Linked DNA regions of Homo sapiens: region 1 is linked to region 2. The links are contacts of gene promoters, found by promoter capture Hi-C in blood cells and fetal thymus (Javierre and others, 2016). All regions are on one chromosome and are shown on one strand. Each heading gives the region's core, a stretch centred on a gene start or on the middle of the fragment in contact. The rest is flanking DNA. Distances are from core to core; before and after follow the strand shown. Region 1 overlaps INCR1 (interferon stimulated noncoding RNA 1). Region 2 holds the start of RFX3 (regulatory factor X3).

Region 1 (6,116 bases), core at 2,915-5,414, 2.1 Mb after region 2:
ATTGCAATAAGATGAGTCACACACATTTTTTGGTTTGCAAGTAGTTATAAAAGTTATGTTTAGACTGTTCTGTCATCTATTAAGTGTGTAATAGTATTTTGTCTAAAAAATGTGTATACTTTAATTTAGAAAATACTTTATTGCAGCCGAGCATGGTGACTCATGCCTATAATCCCAGTACTTTGGGAGGCCGAGGCGGGCAGATCACCTGAGGTCAGGAGTTCAAGACTAGCCTGGCCAACATGGGGAAACTCCATCTCTACTAAAAATACAAAAATTAGCCAGGCATGGTGGCACACGCCTGTAATCCCAGCTACTCGGGAGGCTGAGGCAGGAGAATCGCTTGAACCTGGGAGGCGGAGGTTGCAGTCAGCCGAGATTGTACCACTGTACTCCAGCCTGGGTGACAGAGCGAGACTCCATCTCAAAATATATATATTATTGCTAACAAAATGCTAATGATCTTCAGAGCTTCCAGCAAATAGTAATCTCTTTGCTGCTGGAGGGTCTTGTCCCATGTTGATGGCTGCTGACTGATCAGGGTGGTGGTTGCTGAAGGCTGTAGTGACTGTTCCAAGTTTTTTTTTTTTTTTTGACATGGAGTCTTCCTCGGTCGCCAGGCTGGAGTGCAGTAGCGCGATCTCGGCTCACTGCAACCTCCGCCTCGCAGGTTCAAGCAATTCTCCTGCCTCAGCCTCCCGAGTAGCTGGGACTACAGGCGGGTGCCACCATGCCCAGCTAATTATTATTTTTTTAGTAGATACGGGGTTTCACCATGTTGGCTAGGATGGTCTCGATCTCTTGACCTTGTGATCTGCCTGCCTTGGCCTCCCAAAGTGCTGGGATTACAGGTGTGAGCCACCGCACCTGGCCCCTTTCCAGAAGGTTTTAGATTCACTTTGCTCAGATCCATCAGAGGAATCACTGTGTATAGCAGATCCACTATGTATAGCTGCATTTCATAGCAGCTCTAGCCTTATGAAATGTATTTCTTAAATAATAAGACTTAAAAGTCAAAATTATTCCTTGGTCCACAGCTACAGAATGGATATTGCATTAGCAGGCAAGGAAACAGCATTAATCTCCTTGTATGTCTCCATCAGAATTCTAGGATGGCTAGATGCACTGTCCGTGAACAGTGAAAGTTTGAACTATGTATAGCAGATTCACTATGTATAGCTGCATTTCATAGCAGCTGTAGCCTTATGAAATATATTCCTTAAATAATAAGACTTAAAAGCCAAAATTACTCCTTGGTCCATGGGCTACAGAATGGATACTGCATTAGCAGGCAAGGAAACAGCATTAATCTCCTTGTATGTCTCCATAAATACTCTAAGATGGCTAGATGTGCTATCCATGAACAGTGAAAGTTTGAAATGACTCTTTCATTCCAAGTAGTAGTTCTCAACAAGAGCTTAAAATATTCAATAAATCATACTGGAAACGGATGTGCTATCATCCATGCTTTGCTGTTCCATTTATAGAGCACAGGCAGAGTAGACTTGACATAATTCTTAAGGGCCTTAGGATTCTAGGAGTGGTAAATGAGCACTGGCTTCCACCAAAAAAGCCACCAGCATTATTAGCCGCTAACAAGGGAGTCAGCCTGTCCTTTGAAGCTTGGAAGCCAAGCACTGACTTTTCCTAACTATGGAAGTCCTAGATGGCATCTTATTCCAACAGATGGCTGTTTTGTCTACACTGAAGATCTGTTGTTTAATGTAGCCACCTTTATCAAAGATCTTAGCTAGATCTTCTGGATAACTTGCTGTAGCTTCTACGTCAGTACTTGCTACTTCACCTTGCAGTTTCATGTTATGGACACAGCTTCTTTTGGTAAACCTCATGAACCAACCTCTGCTAGCTTCAAATGTTTCTTCTGCAGTTTCCTTGCCTCCCTTAGGCTTCACAGAATTGAAGAGAGCTAGGGCACTGCTCTGGCCTAGGCTTTGGCTTAAGGGAATGCTTTTTAAAAACTGGTTTTTGCTTCATTTTAGAGACAGGGTCTCACTCTATCACCCAGGCTAGAGTGCAGTGGCGCAGATAGCTCATTGTAATCTGGAACTCCCAGGCTCAAGTGATCCCCGTCTCAGCCTCCCAAGTAGCTAGGACTACAGGTGCACACCATCATACCCAGCTAATTAAAACATTTTTTTTTAAAGAAATGGGGTCTTGCTATATTGCTCAGGCTGGTCTCGAAGTCTTAGGCTCAAGTAATCCTCCTGTCTCAGCCTCCCACAGTGCTGGGATTAAGGCATGAGGCACTGCGTCTGGTTTAAGGGAATGTTGTAGCTTGCTTGATCTCCTACCCAGACCATTAAAACTTTCTCCAGGTCAGCAACAAGGCTGTTTTGTTTTATCATTCCTATGTTCTCCAAAGTGGTACTTTTACTTTCCTTTAAGAACTTTTTTTCCTTTGCATTCATAACTTGGCTAACTGGTACAAGAGGCCTAGCTTTTGGCCTATCTTTGCTTTCAATATGCCTTCCTCACTTAGTTTAATCATTTCTAGCTTTTTACTTAAAGTGAGAGACGGGGATTCTTTCTTTCACTTGAACACTTAGAGGCTACTGTTGGGTTACTAACAGGCCTAATTTCAATATTGTTGCATCTCAGGGGATAGGGAGGCCCAAAGAAAGGGAGAGAGACAGAGGAACTGCCAGTTGATGGAACAGTCAGAACACACATAACATTTATCGCTTAAGTTCTCCATCTTACATGGATGTGGTACATGACACCCCAAAACAATTACAATAGTTACAACAAAGACCACTGACCACAAATCATCATAACAGATATACTAATAATGAAAAAGTTTCAAATATTGAAAGAATTACCAAAATGTGATAAGAGCCATGAAGTGAGCATATGCTATTAGAAAAAATGGTGCCAATAGACTCACTCAACACAGGGTTACCACAAACCTTATATTAAAAAAAAAAATTGCACCAAATCATACTTCCATCAAGAGAGTATAAATGTATCCCCATTTCTTATGTGTACTCTTACCAACATTATTTCTAGTAATTTAAAAAGTTTATAAGTTTCATAGATGAAAACATGCACCTAGTAACTTTTTTTTTTTTTTTTGAGACAGGATTTCATTCCTTTCACTCAGGTGGGAGTGCAATAGCATGATCTTGGCTCACTATTACCTCTGCCTCCCAGGCTCAAGCAATTCTCCTGCCTTAGCCGCCTAAGGGGCTGGGACCACAGGTGTATGCCACAGTGCCGACTGATTTTTTGTAGAGACAGGGTTTCACCATGTTGCCCAGGCTGGTCTCAAACTCCCGGGCTCAAGTGATCCGCCCACCTCTGCCTCCGAAAGTGCTGGGATTACAGGCGTGATTACCCTGCCCGGCCCCCTACTAACTTTTATCATAAGCTTAATCTTAGAACAGAGTCCAAAAATTTTGACAGGAGTGGTGGTGGAAACTAGTAGAAAAAGGAGGAGAAGACCTAAGGCATGAGAACTGTCAGTATATTTTACAAAATAAAGTTAAAATATGATATTTGAAAGTTGAAGCCAGGCACGGCGGTTCACACCTGTTATCCCAGCACTTTGGGAGGCCGAGGCTGGTGGATCATTTGAGGCTAGGAGTTGGAGACTAGCCTGGCACATGATGAAACCCCATCTCTACTAAAAATACAAAAACTAGACAGGCGTGGTGGTGCATGCCTGTAGTCCCAGCTACTCAGGAGGCTGAGGCACAAGAATCACTTGAACCCGGGAGGCGGAGGTTGCAGTGAGCCAAGATTGCACCACTGCACTCCAGCCTGGGTGACAAAGCAATGCTCTGTCTCAAAAAAAAAAAAAAAAAGAAAGAAAGAAAAAGAAATGATGTTGAAAAATCCAGCCAATAACATTTTTGTCACAATAGGGGAACTCTCAAGTATAGGGTTTTGGAGAGTCAGATATTTCCTTTTCTCCCCGCCAGGGAGAAAGACCTAGAGGTTTCCCCCACTCCCTCTCACTGTCCAGAGCAATTACCACAATTTAGTTCAGCCTAAAGAGCATATGCTGTTGGAAAAACAGCAACAATAGACTTACTTGATGCAGGGATGCCATAAGCCTTAATTTTTTTTTTTTTTTTTGAGACAAAGTCTCACTCTGTTACCCAGCCTGGAGTGCAGTGGAGCGATCTCGGCTCACCGCAACCTCTGCCTCCCAGGTTCAAGCAATTCTCCTGCCTTATCCTCCAGAGTAGCTGGGATGACAGGTGCATATCACCATGCCTGGCTAATTTTTGTATTTTTTTTTTTTTAGCAGAAAGACAGGGTTTCACCATATTGGCCAGGCTGGTCTCAAACTCCCGACCTCATGATCCGCCTGCCTTGGCTTCCCAAAGTTTTGGGATTACAGGCATGAGCCACCGCGCCCAGCCAAACCTTAAATTTTTAAAAAAATCACACAGGAGGCTGGGTGCGGTGGCTCACGCCTGTAATCCCAGCACTTTGGGAGGCCGAGGTGAGCGGATCACCTGAGGTCGGGAGTTCCAGATCAGCCTGACCAACATGGAGAAACCTCGTCTCTACTAAAAATACAAAATTAGCCAGGCATGTTGGTGCATGCCTGTAATCCCAACTACTCCAGAGGCTGAGGCAGGAGAATTGCTTGAACCCAGGAGGTGGAGGCTGCAGTGAGCTGAGATGGCACCATTGCACGCCAGCCTGGGCAACAAGAGCGAAACTCCACCTCAAAAAAAAAAAAAAAGAAAGAAATCACACTGGATCTGTAGAAAGAACATCAGTTCTTTTCAGGCCATGTGAATTCAGGCACATCTACCACACCTGTCCTGTTTCCTCACTTGAGAAAGTGAGAATAACAACATCACACCAATGTCACTCACCTTGAATGTTTACTATGAATTAAATCAAGACAAGCATTTGGAATTATTTTGTGAATCTTAAGTGCTACACAGGAGTGTGGCAGAGGAATAAGCTTCTAAAGTCAGCAAGTAAGGTTAAAATTGAGTGCAATAAAAATTGCTTAGAAGTTCCTTAAATTGCCCATGAGCACAGTATGACAAACTTGAGACACATGAGAACAAAGACTCTCTGAGAGACAGCTGGGACAAACATTCAGTAACACTGCCAGCAAAATTGCTGCACTAGAACATTTTCATTTCCTCTTTCTGCCAAGTGCATAACTGAATCTAAGATGAAAGTATGATGCAACTTTGTTATTCTACAATTTGAAATTGGCAAGTTAAGAAACCTCTCTGGGCCTCTTTGTCTAATGGTGTAGCTCAGCTGGATCAGGGTTTCCTCCACGGTTTGTCTGACAAATACTGCCAGCTTACTATGCTTACTATGTTCCAGGCTGCTGTGTTGGACTGGGGGAGGGTAGACGCCAAGGAGACAATCTGATCGCAACAGGCTGGTGAGTGGTGAGGCAGTTTCAACCTCCATTTGAGGAATACAGGATTCTATCATCACCTTCCAGGGAATGCAGTGAATGTTTAGAAAAATTACAGAAAGTTACATATTTGGTTATGAATACCAGCTACAATGCTATATCTAATATGAATTAAGTTTCTTTGTTTCCTTTTTTCTGTTTATGTTGCTACTTTTTTTTTTTTTTTTGAGACAGTCTCACTCTGTTGCCCAGGCTGGAGTGCAGTGGAGGGATCTTGGTTTGCTGCAACTTCCGCCTCCCAGGTTCAAGCGATTCTCCTGCCTTAGCCTCCTGAGGAACTGGGATTACAGGCACCTGCCACCACGCCCAGCTAATTTTTGTATTTTCAGTAAGACGGGGGTTTCACGATGTTGGCCAGGCTGGTCTCGAACTGCTTACCTAAAGTGATCTGCCCGCCTCGGCCTCCCAAAATGCTGGGATTACAGGCGTGAGCCCCAGCACCCCGCCTACGTTGCTACTTTTTAATGTGGGGTCATTTTTTAAACCTGGCTTTTTAATTGAAAAAGTAATACAAACATATGGAAAAATTCAAACTGTACTAAAAAAGGTAGACAATGAGAAGCAAATCTTTCTTCTATTTCAGACTCCTCCTTCCCCCATTCCACACCATATCCCCTCAACCCTCCTTCTATTCAGACGTTACCACTGGGTCAATCCGTTGAAAGTTACAGCTAAGGTGATACCTGGGGTCCAA
Region 2 (6,413 bases), core at 2,075-4,574:
TCATTATATTCTGCCTGCTAATTTCTTCAGCTGGAGAATACCAACACAATATCAACTTTCTCAAGAAATGAAAAATGTTACCAAAAAGTAACATACATTATCATTTAAACGACGCATAAAATCCAACTTGCCTTTAAGATTCATTCATTTTTTAATTGCTATTGTTAATGGTAAAAAAATTAACCATAATAAATTGTTTAGGGTAAAATAAACTGTTCCAGGTTAAAGCACAGTAAGCTTATAAACTATAACCTTTTATTTGAGTACCAAAGCAGAGTACAAGACTATTTGAGTACTGGAGGAATAATACAAAAAAAACTAACCATCACTACAACCTTTAATGAAAACATTGTGAAACGATGCAAAACTTCTAGAAATTCATTAGTTTGCCATATATGTGTATATGTATGATGCCTACACCATTTAATACAATTCATAGGCAAAACACACCAAAACGACTGAGTTAGGCATTATGACATACATTGAATCACAGACATTTGACTATTCAAAACAAGTTACAAGTGACTTCTATTTAATAGTTTTAGTTTCAAAGCATGATCACTTTTACAAATTTCTATTAGTATAAAAACTGAAAACACAAGAGAGTATCAATACATAACATAGTCCCTTCTAGGAAAAATATTAAGAAAGAATAAAGTAAATGCTAAGTATCTATCCTTGTGTTTAATTTTTAAATTTACCATTTCTCAGTGTTTCTGATTATTTAATCAATTCCACAGCAGCTCTAATAGCAATTTTATCCCACATATATGCTTCAAAAAATGGAAAAGTAATGAAATTCAATTTAAGTTCTGCTCTCAAATCAACTTGTGAATGAAAATCTAAATCACAGAAAACCTGAGCTATACATGAGTGAAATGCCTCAAAAAAAGTTCTCAGACACTGTAAATAAAATATTAAACCATAACATTATAGTATATAATTTACTTAACTGAAAACCTATTATGTAAATGGCATAAGGTCTGAAACTGTCCCAAGACAGCAAAACTCCTATTAACTTCAGAGAGAGTTTATAGGACCCAGGAGCTTCACCATCCAAAAGTGTTCAGGCATTTGACACTCATCTGAACAGAAAAAAAAATACAAGTTAGTATTAGAGATTTGCATGGAACCCAGTTTGGGGAGAGGAGGAATAATTATAAACAAATCTGAGTGCTCTGAGAAAGACTTCTTTCAGAACAAAATATCGTCTTCATTTAAAATAGCAATCACAAGGAAATGAATTGAAAAAGTTTTTTTAAAATCCCAACTCTTATTTTACAAAATATTAGCCTTAATAGCATTATAATTACCCACCCTGCTCGTTGACAATCTCAAGAATAATTAGTACTGTCACATTATTCACAAGCTGCTGTGTCAGTTAAATCAATATATGTTTGCTGTTAGAAAGAAGACTATTTGAATAAGCATTTTAAAACTGTAAATTTAAAACTTCAATATGTGCAACTACAATAGTACATTATATTTGTTTTAGCACACATTCATTATCAAAACTCTACTGATAAATCTATTAACTAAAAGTTAAGCTGAAAAAAATGAACAAATTTAGGGGATCTGTAAAACTGGGTTAACGTTAACCAAGAACCTACTATATAAGGACTAATAAGTATTCAAATCTACAGAGAAAAATAATTTTTAAAAGAAATACTTAAAAAGGAAAAAGTTCTCTCTCCTGAGCAGGTTCAAGTCACTGTCCAAAGAAAATCAAAAAGTAAATAAAAAGAATATGTTAAGTACACACATGCCTAGATCTTAACCAGAAAGAAAGTGAAATATACACACGTTTCAAGTTGAGAACCTTCATACATTCTTTATGAACTTGACTTGAATTTCAACTCTCAAAGGAAAATGAGGAGATTAAAAAAAAAAAAACTCTTAAAGTACCATAACTGTCACAAATAACACTGTGAACTGAGTTCTCACAAAGCTTCCTTGTGTCCCTTCCCTGTTCATCACAAAGTCTCATAATCACAATGAAAATTGTTAACACTCTACTGCGGGGAAGGAGGATCATCAAAGTGAAACGGAACCTCACTACTCCCCCTCCCACCTCCACATGAAGGATAAAGCACTGTCAATAACTACTAACCCAAGTATCACAGATGCCCTGCATCCGGTTTAAATCACAAGCACACACACACACACACACACACACACACACACACACACACACACACACACCAAAGAAGAGAGAGGAGACAGACTTTAAAAAAGAAAAACATCTTTCCCAGTACAGCAAAGAGGGCCCAACGAACAGGCCCCAGGTTTCAATATGTGTGCAAGGGGTGTGTGGGGGGGGGGAGAAAGAGGGGGAGGGAAGAGTGCTGAATGGATGTTAAGACTGTTTGCCGCACAAAGAAAATACAGTTTTAAAAAGAAAAAAGAAAACCATGAAGCTGATGATGGTGAAAGAAGAGCAGCCCATTCAGCACCAGGCAAAGAGGGGCAAAAATGAAGGGAATGGGCGGTGGGAAAAGTTCACCAACGTATGAGGATTAAAAATAACAAAACCCATAACAAGGCCCCACAAGTGAACAACAACAACAACAAAACACCACCTCTTGGGTCCCCCCCTTGCACACTGTTGTCTATTTCGGCTTTGAAAGAAGCAGGAAACAGCAGCGTTGGAAAAGAAGAAAATTAAAGAAAGAACAAATTCTTATCTCTTCACCTGACCCTCCTCCTCAGACCAGACCTAAGGGAAAGATCCAGCATCCGCATCGGAAAACTGTGGCTCCCTCTCCCGCTCGGCTCGCAGCCCCCCAAGCTCCCGCTCCATCCCTGAAGTGCGGCCGGCGCAGGGCCGGGGCCGGCGGGCGGCGCGGCGCCCACACCCCCGACCCAGCCGCGGCGCGCAGGGTCCATTGTAAACAAGCCCGGGGAACAGAGCCCCTCGGCGGCGGCGCCGCAGCGGCAGCCCCCGTGTCAGGAGTGAGACCCCAGCACAGCCACACTCGGCTCGCACACACGAACACACACACGCACGGACACACGCGTTCACACGCAGCCACACGCTCCCACACACATGTAGAGACCGAAGAATATTCACCTTGGCTGTGGATTATTGTGGTGTTGTTGGTGGGTGATGGAGATGGTGGTGGTGGGGAGGAGGAGGAGGAAGAGGAGGAGGAGGAGGAGAGGAGTAGTTGTTGTTGATGGGTAACAGTCGCCAGGACTACGGTGACTATGGCGCTTGATTCACAAGGCAACGGTTGCTATAACTCACAAAAGAGAGAGAGAGAGGGAGAGAGAGAGAGAGCGAGAGGGAGAGGGAGACACTCGCACGGGGAGGGGTGGGGGAGGGAAGAGGGGAGGAGGCGGGCCCGGCCAAGCCGCCGGAAGGGGAGGGCGCAGCGCTGTGACTGACGGCCCCCAAACCCGGGTGGGGTGGCGGGGCGGCGGGGTGACGGGGCACGAGGCCGGGATTCCACCGCAGGACTCCGAAGAGGTGCGCCTATGCTTGGCTGGGGCTGAGGTCACCAAGAGTCCTCTCGGAGGGACGTTACTACACGCGCTGGCGAGGCCCAGGAGTCGTGGTGCGAGGGGTACTATCTGTGAAACGAGGGCTGCCTGTCCCAGCAGCCAGCTTTGTACAGAGACGTCCCGGAGCCACGAGAGAGTAACGGCTAACCCGGGGGAGGGGGTGGCGAGGGTGATTCCAGGCACTTTGTGAAGAAACGAGCTATGGCGAGGGAAGAATCCACTTTGAAGAGCGGCCCCCGCCCTGCCCGATACGTTACTTCCGGGGCGGGGCGGGCAGAGGGGCCCGGATGTGCCGCCGCTTTTTAGTTTCTGAGGCGCCGGCGGTGTTCCTGGTAGCGTCAGCCTCCTGGCTTTTCCTTTTCCTGGACGCTTCAGGGCTCCGCGGCCTGCGCTAGACTGGAGGGTCCGCGTCACTCTCGCCCTCCTGCTTTCCGCGCTCTCACCCGCTCCCGCCTCCTGAGGGCACGACTTGTGGAGGAGCGCGGGCGGCGGGGCGTGAGCGAGCTGCCTCTGCCGCCATCTTAGAGAAGGCGAGCGTGGGGTGTGCGTGGGCGCGAGTCGGCCTCCCGCGGTGCCGCCGCAGCGTGGCGCGGAGAGGTGAGGTCCAAGCGTGTCCGGCCCTCACTCCATAACGAAAAAGCGAGGTCATCACTCCCTATCTACAAGGGATGGGAGTAAGTGCCTGTAGAGAGCAAGAAATTGCCCTGCCCGGAGGCTGAGAAAGCGCATTTGGCGGTTCCCCTCGACGGAAGGCGTAGAGGGGCGGGGTAGCTTACACCTGCCTGCGATACCATCCTGTTAGTTTCTAGTTCTGTTAGTTTCAGCCCTTAAGTGCTCACCCCTCTTTAAAGACCGAACTGGGAGTTGAGCTCAAGCCCGGATCCTGTTACCTGCCGTGCTCTCATCCCCCGTTACTCAGCCTACTGTAGCTGAGGGTCTTGCTGTTTGTGGCTGTATTGAGATAGACGAATGGCTTCCGTCTGTGTTGAATGTTGTTAACACAACCTGCCATCTCAAACACCCGTTGATAAGGCACAGCCTGTAATGCCTCATGGTTCAAACAGACTCCTCCAATTCTCTGCAGACTCGAGTCCAGCAGGCACATGCCCCCAGGCCCTGCCAATACCCAAAATCTCCCAACATTTGCCGCTAAGCTGCTTAACCAGGACAATGACATAGTAGAAGTAGAGCCTTAGGAAGTCAGTTCTCCTCTTGAGGCTTAATTTTTGCACCTGCAAGTAAGGGATTTGGGCCGGCATGCGTTCACCAGCGCTAAAATAATACTGAGCTCATTCTGTGTCCCAGAACTGGTGCTAAGTGTTTTACATACATTATCTCATGTAATCCCAACAACACCAGTGTTAGGTAATATTCGCATTTGAGGAAAAACAGGCCGAGAGTCCTAAAAGTCGGTGGTTTTAGTTTATGGCTGCGTGCCATAGAATACAAGGTTACCTTGTTTTAGGAACCAGCTACTTTGGGTACGTTTTTAAAAGTAATATTGTTGCCTTTGATAATCTCATGAGTTAGAGATGTTCTTACAATAATAATGTGTTGCAGTAGTGAACAGTGGTGAGCCTAGTGCTAAAGCTAAAAGGTTTCCTGACCCACTGTGGTAGTAAGGGCTTCTAGTCAGACAAATGATTGTGTGGTGACCAGTGTGGGTCCCATTTGACATACAGATGGGAAATGAGGTATACGTTCCAGCTTTATGAAAACTGGTAGTCGTTATGAATATTCTCTTTATTATATTTACTGATAAAGTCCTCATTCCTATAATGGTGTGTAGGGCTGTATGTTCACACTACATGGCTCTCTGAATAGCTTTGTTTTTTTAAATTCCATTGTCTGTTATAGTTTGCCTGTCCCGTCTTTCATTGTCAGCTGTTGCTTTTTATTTTTGTCAGTGAACATAGTTCTATTATCCTTACCGCCCTTTTAATTTATTGCTCTTAATCTGCAGGCAAGAAAACCACATAGTGAACCTTGTGCAAAACTGTATCTCAAGAGTATAAATAGGTACTTCGAGGGACTATTAAAAAATAAGTGCAACCCTTGTGCTAGGACATTATAGAATCAGTTTTAAGCTGCTTAAATTTTTTTTTTTTTTTTTTTTTTTTTTTTTTGCCTTACAGATTTGGTCTTTTCCAGAGTTAGGAATAGATAAATTTCCTGAAGTTAATTCTTGAAAATTTAGAATTTAGAATATTTTCCCATGTTTTAGGATACTTGATGATGATACAATTCTAACCATATTGAGGTTAATATTTGAAATGTTAGTGTTACTGCCTGATAGGGTTTGGCTTTGTGTCCCCACCCAACTCTCATGTGAAATCGTAATCCGAAAGTGTTGAAGGAGGGGCCCTGTGGGAGATGATTGGATCCTGGGGGCAGTTTCTGATGGTTTAGCACCATCCCACTAGTGCTGTTTCAAGAGTGACTTCTCACGAGATCTGCTTGTTTAAAAATATTTACCACTACCCCTCTCTCACCTGCCACAATGTGAAGAAAGTCCTTGTACCCTTCGCCTTCCGCCATAATGGTAAGTTTCCGTGAGACCTCCCAGTCATGCTTCCTGTTAAGCCTGCAGAACTGTGAGTCAGTTAAACCTCTTTTCTTCATAAATTACCCAGTCTCCGGCAGTTCTTTATAGCAGTGTGAAAAGGTACAAATACACCACCACACTGAATCAGATGACCAAGATACCAGTTCAAGCTATAGAATCGAAAATACGGATTTTATATGCATGTATTGTTTAATACTGTAATTAGTTACAAAAGAACCCAGAAACCTTTTAACCCATAGTTATTGCTTGTAGGATTTTTTTTAGCCATTTTTTAAAGCTGCATAGATGCATCTTCACATATGTTGCATGTATGTTTCAGAAATAAATTATTTGCTAAGAAGTC

The links. The method cuts DNA at HindIII sites, captures the fragments that hold promoters and counts their contacts. A CHiCAGO score of 5 or more calls a contact.
Region 1: a contact is called between a fragment that was not itself captured here and the fragment with the promoter of RFX3 in region 2, in 2 of 17 cell types (fetal thymus and naive CD4 T cells). The highest score is 11.9, in fetal thymus.

The regions. Positions count from the first base shown.
Region 1 is chr9:5,622,146-5,628,261 of GRCh38, forward strand. The region is part of intron 1 of INCR1 (interferon stimulated noncoding RNA 1); the gene reads right to left. Among named protein-coding and RNA genes, the nearest start is that of RIC1, 3.9 kb to the right of the region's middle. RefSeq lists an enhancer at 5,152-5,371. The HindIII fragment of the contact is 1,557 bases long and covers 3,387-4,943 here.
Region 2 is chr9:3,522,677-3,529,089 of GRCh38, forward strand. RFX3 (regulatory factor X3) reads right to left here and starts at 3,325. Exons shown (of 17, transcript NM_001282116.2): 1 at 3,071-3,325. It overlaps LOC124902110 (a long non-coding RNA gene), which reads left to right and starts at 3,809. Exons shown (of 8, transcript XR_007061398.1): 1 at 3,809-4,101. RefSeq lists enhancers at 2,466-3,082, 3,660-3,709, 3,970-4,269 and silencers at 2,770-2,859, 3,290-3,479. The HindIII fragment of the contact is 14,491 bases long and covers 1,947-6,413 here.